Regions from separate parts of the Homo sapiens genome. Here regions 1, 2, 3 and 5 are each linked to region 4. Evidence: promoter capture Hi-C in human tissues and cell types (Jung and others, 2019). All regions are on one chromosome and are shown on one strand. The core of a region is centred on a gene start or on the middle of the fragment in contact, and the rest is flanking DNA. Distances in the headings are between cores, read along the strand shown. Region 1 overlaps SBF2 (SET binding factor 2). Region 2 overlaps SBF2 (SET binding factor 2). Region 3 has its middle 11 kb from the start of IRAG1. Region 4 holds the start of ADM (adrenomedullin). Region 5 overlaps IRAG1 (inositol 1,4,5-triphosphate receptor associated 1).

Region 1 (2,700 bases), core at 74-2,573, 380 kb before region 4:
GCCATTCTCCTGCCTCAGCCTCCTGAGTAGCTGGGACTACAGGCGCCTGCCACCACGCCCGGCTAATTTTTTCTATTTTTTTTTAGTAGAGACGCGGTTTCACCGTGTTAGCCAGGATGGTCTTGATCTCCTGACTTTGTGATCCGCTCGCCTTGGCCTCCCAAAGTGCTGGGATTACAGGTGTGAGCCACTGCATCTGGCTTTTTTTATTTTTTAATCCTCTACTATCCAACTTTTAGGAAAAGAGCAGAAGTAAATGTATGGAGGTAAATTACCAGGATCCCAGAATTAGGTCATTCTTCAGTTCGTAATTCCTAGACATTTCTTTATACCACTATTGTTAGAATATTTTAATCTCTTTTCCCTCACATTCTCTAGCTGATTTTCCATCAAGATTTGAAATAGCCTCTCCTTTCTTCTTCTTCTTCTTCTTTTTTTTTTTTGAGATAGAGTTTTGCTCTTGTTGCCCAGGCTGGAGTGCAATGGCACCATCTTGGCTTGTAGTAGGACGAGCCACAGACAAAACTCCTCAGACTCCGAGTTAAAGAAGGAAGGGGTTTATTCGGCTGGGGGCATCGGCAAGACTCCTGTCTCAAAAGCCGAGCTCCCCGAGTGAGCAATTTCTGTCCCTTTTAAGGGCTCACAACTCTAAGGGGGTGTGCGTGAGAGGGTCGTGATCGATTGAGCAAGCAGGGGGTACGTGACTGGGGGCTGCATGCACCGGTAATTAGGTCGTAACAAAACAGGATAGGGATTTTCACAGTGCTTTTCTATACAATGTCTGGAATCTATAGATAACATAACCAATTAGGTCAGGGGTCCATCTTTAACTACCAGGTCCAGGGTGTGGCCCCGGGCTGTCTGCTTGTGGATTTCATTTCTGCCTTTTAGTTTTTACTTTTTCTTTCTTTGGAGGCAGAAATTGGGCATAAGACAATATGAGGGGTGGTCTCCTCCCTTAGGCTCACTACAACCTCCACCTCCCAGGTTCAAGTAATTCTCCTGCCTCAGCCTCTCAAGAAGCTGAGATTACAGGCATGTGCCACCATGCCCGGCTAATTTTGTATTTTTAGTAGAGACAGGGGTTTCTCCATGTTGGTCAGGCTGGTCTGGAACTCCTGACCTCAGGTGATCCGCCTGCCTGGGCCTCCTAAAGTGCTGGGATTACAGGTGTGAGCCACCATGCCCGGCCTCTTCTTTTTTAAAAAAAACTTACTTATTTCTTATCTTATATATACCTCTAGTCCAAAGAAATAGAAATAAGACTCAGTAAGTTGCCAGGTATACTGGGAGAGTACAGCAACTACATATAACTCATAAGGCTCAAAACTGCAAATACTATATGTGTGTGTGTGTGTGTGTGTGTATATATATATATATACACACACATATATGTATATCATATATGTATATTTATTTACTTATTTTTGGCATGGAAAAACAGGCAGAATTGGGAAGGGGGAAGAATTTACTCTAAGTTGTATAACTGAGCTTTGGCAGGGAGATAGGGAGGCAAGAGTCAGGCCAAGTTCCTGATACAGAGAAGCTACCAGCTTTGTGTGTAGTTTATGAGACCTGATCTAGATATTCTAGGCACCAGTGCAAGAAGTATATACTATTAATTACCACACATATGGATTAGCATATGCCTACATAAAACCTAGTCTGTCTTTCAGAACATATACTTAAAGGAATTTTATAATTAGGTTGCAGATCATTAGACTCTCTGCTTATTGAGTTATAAAGTATCTTCTTTCACATGTGAGAAGAGACATTAATCTAAAATTTCTTTATGATTTTATCTAAGATTTCAGTGCTGTGTGGAAAAAGTAGCCCTTCAAAGTACTGGTTTTAAAATACTAGCTGCAGAAGGAGGCCAATTTCCCGAAACAAAAGTGAGTGGATATTAAATTGCAATGTGGACACCATGCCCTGTACCGTTATTTCAGAATGTCCAGGCACGAGGACAGTGATACCCTAGTCAGGGAAGCATGACATGGAGAGAGACCACGTCTTTCTAATGCCCTGGTGTTCTGTCAGGGTTCCACAACCTACCCTTAAGGGTTCCTCCTACCCTTAATTTTCCCATTCATTGCATACTTTGCCCTACTTCTTTCTTTCTCTTTTCCAGTTTACTTCTCTTCCCTTCTCAGCCTACTGCCTATAGTAATAGTTTTCAAAATGTGGTCCCTGGATGATATGCATCAGTATGACCTGAAAACTTCTTTTTTTTTTTTTTTTTTTTTTGGAGCTGGAGTTTTGCTCTTGTTGCCCAGGCTGGAGTACAATGGCTTGATCTCAGCTCACTGCAACTTCCACCTCTCGGGTTCAAGCGATTCTCCTGCCTCAGCCTCCCAAGTAGATGGGATTACAGGCATACGCCACCATGCCCGGCTAATTTTGTATTTTCAGTAGAGATGGGGTTTCTCCATGTTGGTCAGGTTGGTCTCCTACTCCCGACCTCAGGTTATCCGCCCGCCTGGGCCTCCCAAAGTGCTGGGATTACGGGCTTCAGCCACCGCGTCCAGCCAGAACTTGTTAAATATACAAATTCCTGGGCTCCATCCTAGTTTCTACTTAATCAGAAACTCTGGGTGTGGCCACAGCGACCTGTGTTTTAACATGCTGTCTAGTTATTCTAATGCTCGCTAAACTTTGAGAATCACTGCCTTATAGTGTACTAAAATTATCCTTTCTGAT
Region 2 (2,700 bases), core at 163-2,662, 360 kb before region 4:
AAATTAGCCGGGCATGGTGGCGGGCACCTGTAGTCCCAGCTACTTGGGAGGCTGAGGCAGGAGAATGGTGTGAACCTGGGAGGCGGAGCTTGCAGTGAGCCAAGATCGCGCCACTGCACTCCAGCCTGGGCAACACAGCGAGACTCTGCCTCAAAAAAAAATTTTTTTTAAAGTACATACTATGCTAAAAGATAGAAATGGTGGTGGTGCAGCCAGTCTAATACCAAAGTCTGAGCAGCTGTGTAGTACCCAACAGGAGCACGTATACCATTAGTAAGCAGTTGTAGTTATTTTTAAATGAAATAAAAATATTACTATTTTTGAAAAAATTTAAGTGTATATTTTTTCCCAAATAGCTATTAAGTTGTAGGAATATAATACACATTACTTGGCCTGAAAGATTTACTAAATGAAGCTGTCAGGTATTTGGTTTGGCCCAGGGGGCACCAAGAAAATATTGCTGAGATACTAAGGACTCATTGTGAACTCAGAAAATTTGGGAACCTCTTAAACCTGCAGCCCAAGAAGTAAAAAATAATAGAACAAGTGAAAAACTTAGATGAATGGAAATAATAAAGATAGAAAAGAAATTAATTAGACAGAAAGCAAAGATACAAAGGCAAAGAGTTTATAGACTAATAAAATGGACAAAACTAATTTTAAAAAAGAAAAAAGCCACTAATCAGTAGACATGTTCTTAGGAAATAATTACCAAAATGAACTCAAGAAAAGCTGAAAACCTGAAGAGACTATAATTAGAAATTAAAAATATTCTCCCAAAGGCTGGATGTGGTGGCTCATGCCTGTAATCCCAGCACTTTGGGAGGCCAAGGTGGGAGAGTTGCTTGAGAGTTCAAAACCAGCCTGAGCAATAAAGCGAGACCCTGTCTCTACAAAAAAATAAAAAAATAAATTAGCTGTGCATGGTGGCGCATGCCTGTGGTCCCAGCTACACAGGAGAGTGAGGTGGGAGGATCACTTGAGCCCATAAGTTTGAGGCTGCAGTAAGCTATGATTCCCACCCCTGCGTGCCAGCCCCAGCCTGGGCAATGGAGCAAGACCCTGTCTCTTCAGTAAAAATAAAAAAAAAAAAATTATCCCAAAGAAAACATTAGGTTAAGGTGGCTTTACTGGTGAGTTTTAACAAACTTTCAAGGAACACACGATTTCACTCTAACATAAAGTGTTTCAGAGAAGAGATACAGAGGAATACTCCCTATTTCATTTTTTGACGTTAGTATAACTTAGCTCCAATACCAGCCAAGGAGTATTTGAGAAATTATAAACTGATTTCAATCATAAAAATAATTGCACATTAAGAATGAGATAGAGCTGTACAAAAAGCATTTCATAAAACTGACACCTATTATGACAAAAACTCTTAAACCAGGAATGGAAATGGACTTAATAACCTGATAGCAAATATCTACCAAAACTTCTAGCACAGATAAAGCTTAATGATTAAACTTTAAAAGAAAGGCACTTACTGTCACTTCTATTTAATGTTATACTATAGGTCCTTGCCAGAAAATAAGAAAGAAAAAAAATATATATATAACGTTTAGAAAGTGAGGTAAAAACCATTCCTATTACTGGATGATATGATTGCCAACATAGAAAACAGAAAAGAATATGTGGCAAATTACTAAAATTAAGGAAGTTTGCAATATTAATAGATAAGTTTACTGTATTTCTATATATTTTAAAAAAAGCAATTAGAAAATGCAATTTTAAAAGACAGCATTTACAGTAACAACAACAAAACAGGGCACCTAACAATAAATTTAACAAAATATGTATGAGACCTTCATGGAGAAAAATCATACATGTATTTTTTGAGGCAGGGTCTCGTACTGTCACCTGGGCTGGAGTGCGGTGGCACAATCACGGCTCACTGCACCCTCGAGTGGGCTCAAGTGATTCTCCCATCTCAGCCTCTCATGTAGCTGGGGCTACAGGTGTGTGCTACCATGGCTGGCTGATTTTTGTATTTTTTGTGAGACAGGGTTTCGCCATGTTGTCCAAGCTGGGCTCAAGCAATCTTCCTGCCTAGGCCTCCCAAGGTGCTGGGACTACAGGCATGAGCTACTGTGCCCAGCCCATACAGTGTTATGAAAGACATTAAAGATCTAGATGTACAATACTATGTTTATAGATACGAAAACTTGCAAAATGTCAATTCTTCCTACATTAATCTATGGATTCAATGTAATCTTAATTTAAGTTCCAGTAGAGGCTCTCATGGAAGTGAATAAGGTTATTCTAAAATGATATGGAAACACAAGGGGAAAGAATACAGAAGACATTTCTTAGGAAGATACAGCATGGGGGCTTGCCCTGGTAGATATTAAAATTTATTATAAAACTTTAATTAAGACTATGTGATGGGCAACATGGTAAAATCCTGTCTCTACTAAAAATACAAAAAATTAGCCAGGCATGGTGGCGTGCACCTGTAGACCCAGCTACCAGGGAGGTTGAGGTGAGAGGATCACCTGAGCCCAGGAGGCAGAGGCTACAGTGAGCCATGGTCACATCACTGCACTGAAGCCTGGGCGACAGAGTAAGAGAGTAAGACCCTGTCTCAAAAAAAACAAAGAAAGAAAGGAAGAAAGGAAGAAAGAAAGAAAAGAAAAGAAAGAGAGAGAGAGAAAGAAAGAAAGAAAGAAAGAAAGAAAGAAAGAAAGAAGGAAGGAACGA
Region 3 (2,700 bases), core at 110-2,609, 400 kb after region 4:
GAGACAATTAAAGAGGTCCCCTTGGGATATGTCTGTAATTCATACATTATTTATATTATTCATCATTACAGTAGTATCCATCTAAAGACATAGTTAGGCTGGGCGTGGTGGCTCACGCCTGTAATCTCAGCACTTTAGAAGGCCAAGGAGGGAGGAATACTTGAAGCCAGGAGTTCGAGACCAGCCTGGCCAACATGGCAAAACCCCATCTCTACTGAAAATACAAAAATTAGCCAGGCATGGTGGCGAGCACCTATAATCCCAGCTACTCAGGAGGCTGAAGTGGGAGAATGGCTTGAACCCAGGAGGCAGAGGTGGCAGTGAGTTAAGATCATGGCACTGCACTCCCGTCTGGAAAACAGAGAGAGACTCCATCTCAAAAAAAGAAAAAGAGTAAAAAAAGACACTGTTAAAGGGGTTCCCTCTAGCAGCAGAACTTGGGGTAGGAAACCAGGACTTTTTGTTACAAGGCTTTCTCTTCTGATTCTTTTAAAAAGCAATGTGGAGGTATTGCTTTTATTTAAAAATTATTTTAAAAATAAAAAAAATTAAAATAAGTGCCTAGGTGTTCTTTCCATTAGAAGGAGGCCCTGAGGTAGGCTGGTGGGGAGAAAGAGGGAGCAAAAGGGTCTTGGCATCCTGACTGGAGGGAACAGCTACTGGAAACATTGTCATCTACTTTCTGCATTCTGCCCCAAGAGCATGACTTACCCATTCATTCCACAGATATGCACTATGTACATACCTTGTGCCTAGGCCTCTGCTAGGCAGGGAGGCTCAGAGGTGGGCAAGATATGGCTCCTGCCCTCCAGGAGGTGATAGTATAAGACTTCAACAAGTCAGTAACATCCATAATACAAGCTATGTGAAAGTGGTGTGCAAGCTCTGTTGTTGTGCTTACATGAGGTGTTGTTAGTAGAACTATTCTATAAGGAAGAACACAGTCAGTACCATGGATGGGCAGTAGTTAGGGATCACTGAGCTTGAACCAAGTGCTGCAGGAGCTCCGAGGAAGAAGTGGAGCATTGGGAAGATTTGCTTTCTAGTTGACATTTGAGGCAGTTATTAAGTCCAAACAGGTCAAGGTTTCAAAGGATGGAGAGTGGGTCAGGGAGGGTCTTCTTCCCAGGTAAAGAAGTAGTACATGCCTAGGTATGGCGAAGTGTTCAGGAATGCAGTAGTAGGGGTTCTGTTTTGGGGCTGGCTGAGTAGGTCAGATAATGAAGGAGCCTTAAACCCCAGGCTTGGGAGTTTGAACTTACTTTTATGTGGGCTGGGAGCCCCAGGAAGTTTCTAAGCCGAGAAAGTGTCTGATATGAGCTGGGCTTTGAGAAGATTGCTCTAGGGCAGGGGACAAGTCAAGGGATTATTGTAAAATGCCATGGAAAGAAAGTGGACTTTGGAGCCAGACAGACTCCAGGGAACTATGGAAAAATTAATTAACCTCTCCAAGGTCAGTTTCCTCATCTTCAAAATCAGTAACACTGGGGATTGCCTTCAAGAAAGTTGGCAACTGTTATGGCCGGGGTACTAGCCACTAAGTATGGGTAACAGTGACTGTCCTGCTAGAGCTGGGTCCTGGAAGTCCCCAGCAGTACCAGGCATCAATCCTTCAGTTGCCAAACTATGACAAGGTCCAGGTAATCCTAGGGAAGGGGCCAGGGTGACTGGGGTGATAGGGAGAGGTCTCAGGGCAGCAGCAATATGCAACTGGCAGGGAAGTACCTTAATATTTGAACAATTCATAGCCATGGTGGGGTGGATGGGCTGAACATTAGCCTGGGCGCTCCTGAAATACCCCATAAAGATGTGGCCCTCAGGAAATAAAAGGATATCCAGGATGACCAGTTGAGCAACTGATGTAAAGTAAAATCATTTATTGAGATGAGAAAGCCTGGGAGGAGCGAGCCGGGGACACAGGAGTAATGGACTCAGAGTATTATTTTGGACATGTTAAGTTTGGTTGACTGTGAAACATCCAAGTAGAGATGACACTTGGACAGTTGAACATGTGAAGCTCCACAGAGAAGTGGGAACAACAGTGATGAGGTGGGCAGATGAGAGAGAGACTCAAGAAACTTGTGCCCTAACTGCTTGTGGGAAATGGGAAGAACAGAGTGAGTGACTCCAAAGTTTTGATCTCTGGACAGGTAGAGAGAAGTTAATGCCCTGAGGAAGCCAGGAGCAGGAGTGCATTGGTTAAGGATGATATGAGTTCAGTTTGAAATGCTGGTGGGAGGCCCAGATGGAGAGGCCCAGCAAATGGTTAGAAATGCAGAGTGACAAGGATTGTGGCTTAAGAGAGGTGCAGACTGGTGACATCGAATTCAGAAGTATGGACTTCTAGGAGAGCTTTCAGTCACAGGCCTTTGTAAACTGATTAGGGTGGGTGTAAGAGAAAAGAGAGCTAAGGGAAGAAAGTCAGAAAGACAGAGAAAGAGAGAGAGAGAGGACATAATAAAGGCTTGGAAAGAGAGAAAGGGGAAAATCAACACAGAGGACCAAAAAATGAGGAGCCAGTAAAAAACTGGCAAGAGACAGGAAGTTGCTGTCAGTACATGGAAAAGAGGAGGAGGTGGCCTGTAGAGTACTGCAGGGAGCCCAGGAGATGAGGATTGCAAACAAGCTATCAGACCTTAGAAAGCCTTGTCAGTAGACCGGTGGGTTTCGTGAGGTCATGGAGGTGAAGGCTGTGAGGGT
Region 4 (2,700 bases), core at 158-2,657:
TAGAAGCCTGTTTGGCTAGTGGTCTCGCACCTTTGGCCTCTCCGTCGAGTCGCTGGGCTTCAGGACATTCGATTAGAGGAGTGGTTAGTAGGACCCCAGAAACCCACAAGCACGAAGCAGGAAGCCCCGTGGCTTAGCCTTTCCTTCCCAGTTTGGCCCCCAGGAGAGAAGTAAGAAAGAGAAGAAGCTGTGATGAAAGAGCACAAACGGGTGACAAACGTGTCTAGCGTGATTCATCATGAACAGGCACAAATTCTTTGGGCGGGGGCTAGGACTCTCCTTTGCCCCTTGAGAAGTTGGTGACCCCAGCCTAGAGGAATCCACGCCGCGCCCCAGTCGGCCGTGCTAGCGTGTCGGGCCGAGTAGGGACTCTGCTGCTTCCTACCTGCAGGGTGACTTCCCCTCTCTGCAGATACCTCCCCTCTCTGAGCTTGAATTTTCTACCTGCTGAAATGGGAAAAGGAATGTTACCTTCCTTGCCTGACTCAAGGGTGGCTGTGAAGCTCAAAGTAGACTGGGATGTGGCCGTGCTTGGTAAACTGTAAAATGATTAGCATACGTGAAGCGTTAGTGTGCTCCCTGGCAGTCAGTCCTCACGTTTACGATGGATTAATGAAGGCAGCCAGGCACAATCTCAGGTTATGACCTTATAAGGCATAATAGGATTACAAGGAGGCAAAATGAAACAGTATATTTCCTCCTAATTTTGGTTATTCCTATGTTTCCAAATAGAAATGAAAATTCTGAAATTTCAGATAATTCCCCCCTCCAAATCCCAATTCTCAATTTAGCTTTTCTGAGCCTTGTCCCTACCGTGAAATCTTACTAGCTCACCCCGAAACGCCGGGGTCTTGGTCCTCTGGGGGACTAGTGAGTCCTGCTCCTCTCGGCTTTGCTCCGTCCCTGCCCCGGCCCCTCCGCGGGAGTCTGGGGTCGCGGCCCGGTCAGGCGCCAAGCCGGCAGGGGGGCGCGGTCCACTTGAGGCCACAGCTCCCCAGGTCCAGGGCTCGGGCCATCCGCGCTGTCCCTTCCGCGGGCTCTTGCTGTTCTTCGCCAGGAGGCTTTGCACTCCGGGCCGCATGGGTCCTGGATAAGGACCTCAAGAGGTTGTAGTGGCGCCCCTTCGCTCCGGCGTACTGTCTGAACCCTGTGCCCAAAGAGGGCTGTGGCAGTTCCTGCACCAACCGCCTGGAGCCCATACCTAAGCCCTCTGGGCACGAGGGACCTCCTCTCCCCCGCTCCCCCCTCCCCCCATCCCAACTCCAGCCCCAAAGGAAGCAATGCGCGCGTCCGAGAGCAGGAGCGCGCGTGGCTGAGGAAAGAAAGGGAAGGCAACCGGGCAGCCCAGGCCCCGCCCCGCCGCTCCCCCACCCGTGCGCTTATAAAGCACAGGAACCAGAGCTGGCCACTCAGTGGTTTCTTGGTGACACTGGATAGAACAGCTCAAGCCTTGCCACTTCGGGCTTCTCACTGCAGCTGGGCTTGGACTTCGGAGTTTTGCCATTGCCAGTGGGACGTCTGAGACTTTCTCCTTCAAGTACTTGGCAGATCACTCTCTTAGCAGGTAGGTGCCGCAGACCCTGCGGGTTAAGAGGTGGGGTGGGGGGCAGTGCTTGCCAAGGCCCTAAACTGGGAGCGCTGGGTGAGGGGAACAACCCACTTTGGAGGGTTCTCTGAGAGATAGATACACCCCATATCCTGGGCCCAGCTCGTGCACACAGCTGGAGGTCCAGAGACCCAGTCCCCTCTGCTCCGTCAGCCAAGTTCCAAGAAGTTGAGCAGAGACCCTCTGGGAGCCTGGCGGGGTGCAGCGGCCTCCCCTGCGGGGCCTGTCACCCGGCCGGCGCGTGCAAACGCCTCTGGCGCCTCTCTGCGCGGAGGGAGATAAGCGTCTGAGCCAGGGAAAGCGCGGGCTAAACCCGCCTCGCCGGGGCCCCTGCCCGCCCTCCGTGCCCCGCCCGGGCGGTGCAGCTGGCCCGGGTGCTCACGCTCGACTCTCTTTCTTCTTTTCCAGGGTCTGCGCTTCGCAGCCGGGATGAAGCTGGTTTCCGTCGCCCTGATGTACCTGGGTTCGCTCGCCTTCCTAGGCGCTGACACCGCTCGGTTGGATGTCGCGTCGGAGTTTCGAAAGAAGTGAGTCCGGGCAGCGCCTTCCCCCTTGCTGGTACCTGGCAGGCAAGGGGAACTGACCGTTGGTCCCGAAGGTCTAGAAGTGAATGGGAGCAGGGACAGGCCTGGGCGTCACCTGAACGCACGCGAATCGGGTCTGCTTGTGTTTTCCAGGTGGAATAAGTGGGCTCTGAGTCGTGGGAAGAGGGAACTGCGGATGTCCAGCAGCTACCCCACCGGGCTCGCTGACGTGAAGGCCGGGCCTGCCCAGACCCTTATTCGGCCCCAGGACATGAAGGGTGCCTCTCGAAGCCCCGAAGACAGGTAACTACGCCCTGTGCTGTCCAGGGACGGGAGGGAAGGAAGGTGTGCGGGAGGAGTTCTCTGTCTCCACTCCCCTGGCCCGGGGGATCGTCGGGGCTGGACCGCAGCTCAGATGGCGCGAGCAGTTTCCAGCTCCCTCTGGCTCTAGAATGGCTCCCGTTCCCGGTGTTGGGGCCAAAGCTCTGCTTGATGGGGTCTCAAGTTGCCTTTCTTCCCCCTCCCCCCGCCCGCAGCAGTCCGGATGCCGCCCGCATCCGAGTCAAGCGC
Region 5 (2,700 bases), core at 171-2,670, 340 kb after region 4:
GAAGCCGTGATCCACGTGGCGCAGACTCTGAGAAGGCTCGCCTTACGGAACTGTTCAACAGAAAGAAAACCAGCATAGAAGGAACTTCATTCTTTACTCTCACCTCTCAAAGAACATGAAAGGGGAACAAATCTTCACTCCCATCCTGACCTCTCCTCTGCCCTTTTCTCTTTCCTTAACGATTCTCACGCCCCCTCTCTGATGACTCTTCCCCTGCTTGCCTCCCTGCCCAGATCCTCTGTCTACCTTCTTTCTCTTTTTCTCCTGCTCCAGCCTTTACTCCCCCAGCTCCATCCAGTTATTTTTTGTGCAGATTGTCTTCATTTGTTTGTATGATTGACTCACAAACATTTACTGAAGAGTCTTACAGAGCAAAGACCTTCTTGGAGAAGAGAGGGGCACTGGGCTGGCAATGATCAGATTCTGTTTGGCGTCCAAGAAAGGGATGTGGTCTGTGAACACTCCCACATTATTGGACCTTATTCTGTCCAATCATCCGGCAAACATTTATTGAATGCCTATTGTGGCCAGGGTCTATGCTAAGGTCTGGGAAGACAAAGGTGAACTGAGCGGGCCTCTGCAATGCTTCCCATTCATTAGCATGAAGGAATGGGGAGAGAAGGGGAAGTAACCTCCACTGCTATTACTAATAGTGCCCTCGGTGTTGATACCTACCAGGTAAATGGGTACAAGGCACGGGAGTGAGCTGCCTTCTGATAGGAGCTTTCTCTGCTTGCTGGCTAATGGTTACCTGAAGCAAAGCTCTCCTGACTGTAGGCATCTCACTGGGGAGGAGGACCATGGCAGAGGTGCCCATACAAAAAGGCAGAAACAAGCCATGGGTGGCAAGTGCCAAGCAGGTAACCGCAGACACTCACAATTCCAAGTGGCTTACAAAGCAGGAAGCATAAAGCGATTAGGAGGAAATCCTCTAATCCCTTGATGGAACATCCTGGAAGGTTCTTCACACTTGCCTTCTAATGTGTGCAAAATACACAACTCATAAAATCATAGTGTTCTTTCCCTCATCAGCTGACAGAATCGTTGAGCAAGCTCTGGGCAACTTCTCCTTTTCTGCAAAACTGTTTTGGTGGGAACATTCAGGTCTTGTGGGGGCTGTTTTTCACTCTATCAGGGACTGGGGAGACAGTAATCCAGGAGAGAGTGTGTGGGAAGATTCTAGGGGCCCTCTGGGGTGAATTCTGCCAGATTTTCATGCAGTGCACACACGCATCCCTGCTCCCATTCTGAGCTGTCAAACACAAGGCAGGCCTTCAAGAAAGCTTGGGAGAGCAGTAAGACCAAATAGCGTTGGCCAGACAACCTACTGGCTTAGGGGCTTCAGGGCCTCAGGCTCAGAAGCCACACTACCTTATGGTATACTTTTTAGCTGGATAACCTTGGGCAAGTTACCTTGCCTCTCTGTGCCTCAGTTACCTAATCTATAATGGAACTATCTCACAGGGTAGTTATAAGAATTAAACAAGTTGATATAGAAATAGGATTTCTGGATAAAGCACAGGATGCCCCAGTTATATTTGAATTTCAAATGTACAACAGATAATTTTTAGTATGTGTGTCTCAAATATTCCATGGACATAACTGTATTCTCTCTCTCTCTCTCGACTGAATCTTGCTATGTGCCCAGGCTGGTCTCAAATTTCTGGGCTCAGGTGATCCTCTCACCTGAGTAGCTGGGACTGCAGGTGTGAGCCACCATGTACAGCATATAATCATATTTTCATTTTCCAAATCTGGCAGCCCTAGATGGCAAGCCTGTGGAAGTGCACCTAGCACTGAGCAAATGCTCACTAAGCATTAGATGTTATGTTCCCTTATTATTCCCTTCGGGATTGAATTAATGACTTTGGCATTTGGTTTTGAAAAGATGGTTGCTCTTAGTTCTGGGTCTCCTCAACCATCTGGAGTTAAATTGGGAGAGCCCAGCCACTGTGGTCACGGCGCAATGGAGCATCTCTCCTGGGGCATCTGACCACATAAGCCCAAGTGATCAAGGACCCACCACCAAGGCCACCTTCACCCGGCTCCACTCCCTCTCACCCTCTGCCTCTCAAACCAATCAATGCCCTTTGTGGGTTACAGACATGGAAGCACAGAAACAAACATGGCTAGAGGGAATTGGCAGTTACTCAGGCCCACTGTGTGGTGGGCCCTGTCCCAGACCCCCCTCGTGTTTTCTCACCGAATCCTCCCAGAAACTCAGTGGGTAAACCTGAGGACACCACCTACAAATTGGGGGTGATAATGCCTCCCAAACTCATAGAATTGTGAAGAGGAAACGAGAAGATGAAAGTGAAGGCCATGAGCATGGGGTAGAAGATTGATATCTTTCTTTTTTCTCTTCTGCTTTTCTATTTTGATCTCCACTTTATCAATGCAAAAACTGACTTGTCCAGGGCTGTGCCGCTTGTAAATAGGGGAAGTGACTGAACACAGGCTGTGTCCTTCCCACGACACCACGCTACTCTTAAAGCTGCATCCCCAGTTTTTGGTCTCACCTCCCCTGGTTCCTGGTGCCCTGCTGGCCTCTGACACTCTTATTCTTCCAAGCTGCACTCTCCTTCACAGAAGGTACCTCTTCCTCCAGGAAGCCCTCAAACCAGCACAAGGCTGAACACACAGCTGGAGAAAAGGACAGCATGGGCAGAGGATGCCCTTGGCTCACTGCCCTTCTCACTC

Evidence for each region. The method cuts DNA at HindIII sites, captures the fragments that hold promoters and counts their contacts. A contact is called where the count stands out against the background at its distance.
Region 1: a contact is called between a fragment that was not itself captured here and the fragment with the promoter of ADM in region 4, in 1 of the 25 tissues and cell types used here (mesendoderm cells).
Region 2: a fragment that was not itself captured here is called in contact with the fragment with the promoter of ADM in region 4 in 3 of the 25 tissues and cell types used here (IMR-90 fibroblasts, dorsolateral prefrontal cortex and heart right ventricle).
Region 3: a fragment that was not itself captured here is called in contact with the fragment with the promoter of ADM in region 4 in 1 of the 25 tissues and cell types used here (mesendoderm cells).
Region 5: a fragment that was not itself captured here is called in contact with the fragment with the promoter of ADM in region 4 in 1 of the 25 tissues and cell types used here (aorta).

Annotation. Positions count from the first base shown.
Region 1 is chr11:9,918,840-9,921,539 of GRCh38, forward strand. All of the region lies in intron 16 of SBF2 (SET binding factor 2), which reads right to left. All of the region lies in intron 2 of LOC101928008 (a long non-coding RNA gene), which reads left to right. Among named protein-coding and RNA genes, the nearest start is that of LINC02709, 160 kb to the left of the region's middle. The HindIII fragment of the contact is 5,937 bases long and covers 1-2,700 here.
Region 2 is chr11:9,940,253-9,942,952 of GRCh38, forward strand. All of the region lies in intron 16 of SBF2 (SET binding factor 2), which reads right to left. Among named protein-coding and RNA genes, the nearest start is that of LINC02709, 180 kb to the left of the region's middle. The HindIII fragment of the contact is 8,904 bases long and covers 1-2,700 here.
Region 3 is chr11:10,703,860-10,706,559 of GRCh38, forward strand. No RefSeq gene overlaps it. Among named protein-coding and RNA genes, the nearest start is that of IRAG1, 11 kb to the left of the region's middle. The HindIII fragment of the contact is 4,896 bases long and covers 1-2,700 here.
Region 4 is chr11:10,303,666-10,306,365 of GRCh38, forward strand. It overlaps ADM (adrenomedullin), which reads left to right and starts at 1,408. Exons shown (of 4, transcript NM_001124.3): 1 at 1,408-1,564; 2 at 2,015-2,133; 3 at 2,284-2,433; 4 at 2,667-2,700. The coding sequence starts at 2,036. It also overlaps a transcript of SBF2 not described here. RefSeq lists silencers at 320-379, 870-969, 1,150-1,199, 1,880-1,929, 1,950-1,999. The HindIII fragment of the contact is 6,042 bases long and covers 1-2,700 here.
Region 5 is chr11:10,639,437-10,642,136 of GRCh38, forward strand. All of the region lies in intron 2 of IRAG1 (inositol 1,4,5-triphosphate receptor associated 1), which reads right to left. Among named protein-coding and RNA genes, the nearest start is that of IRAG1, 53 kb to the right of the region's middle. RefSeq lists enhancers at 2,498-2,547, 2,568-2,700. The HindIII fragment of the contact is 8,261 bases long and covers 1-2,700 here.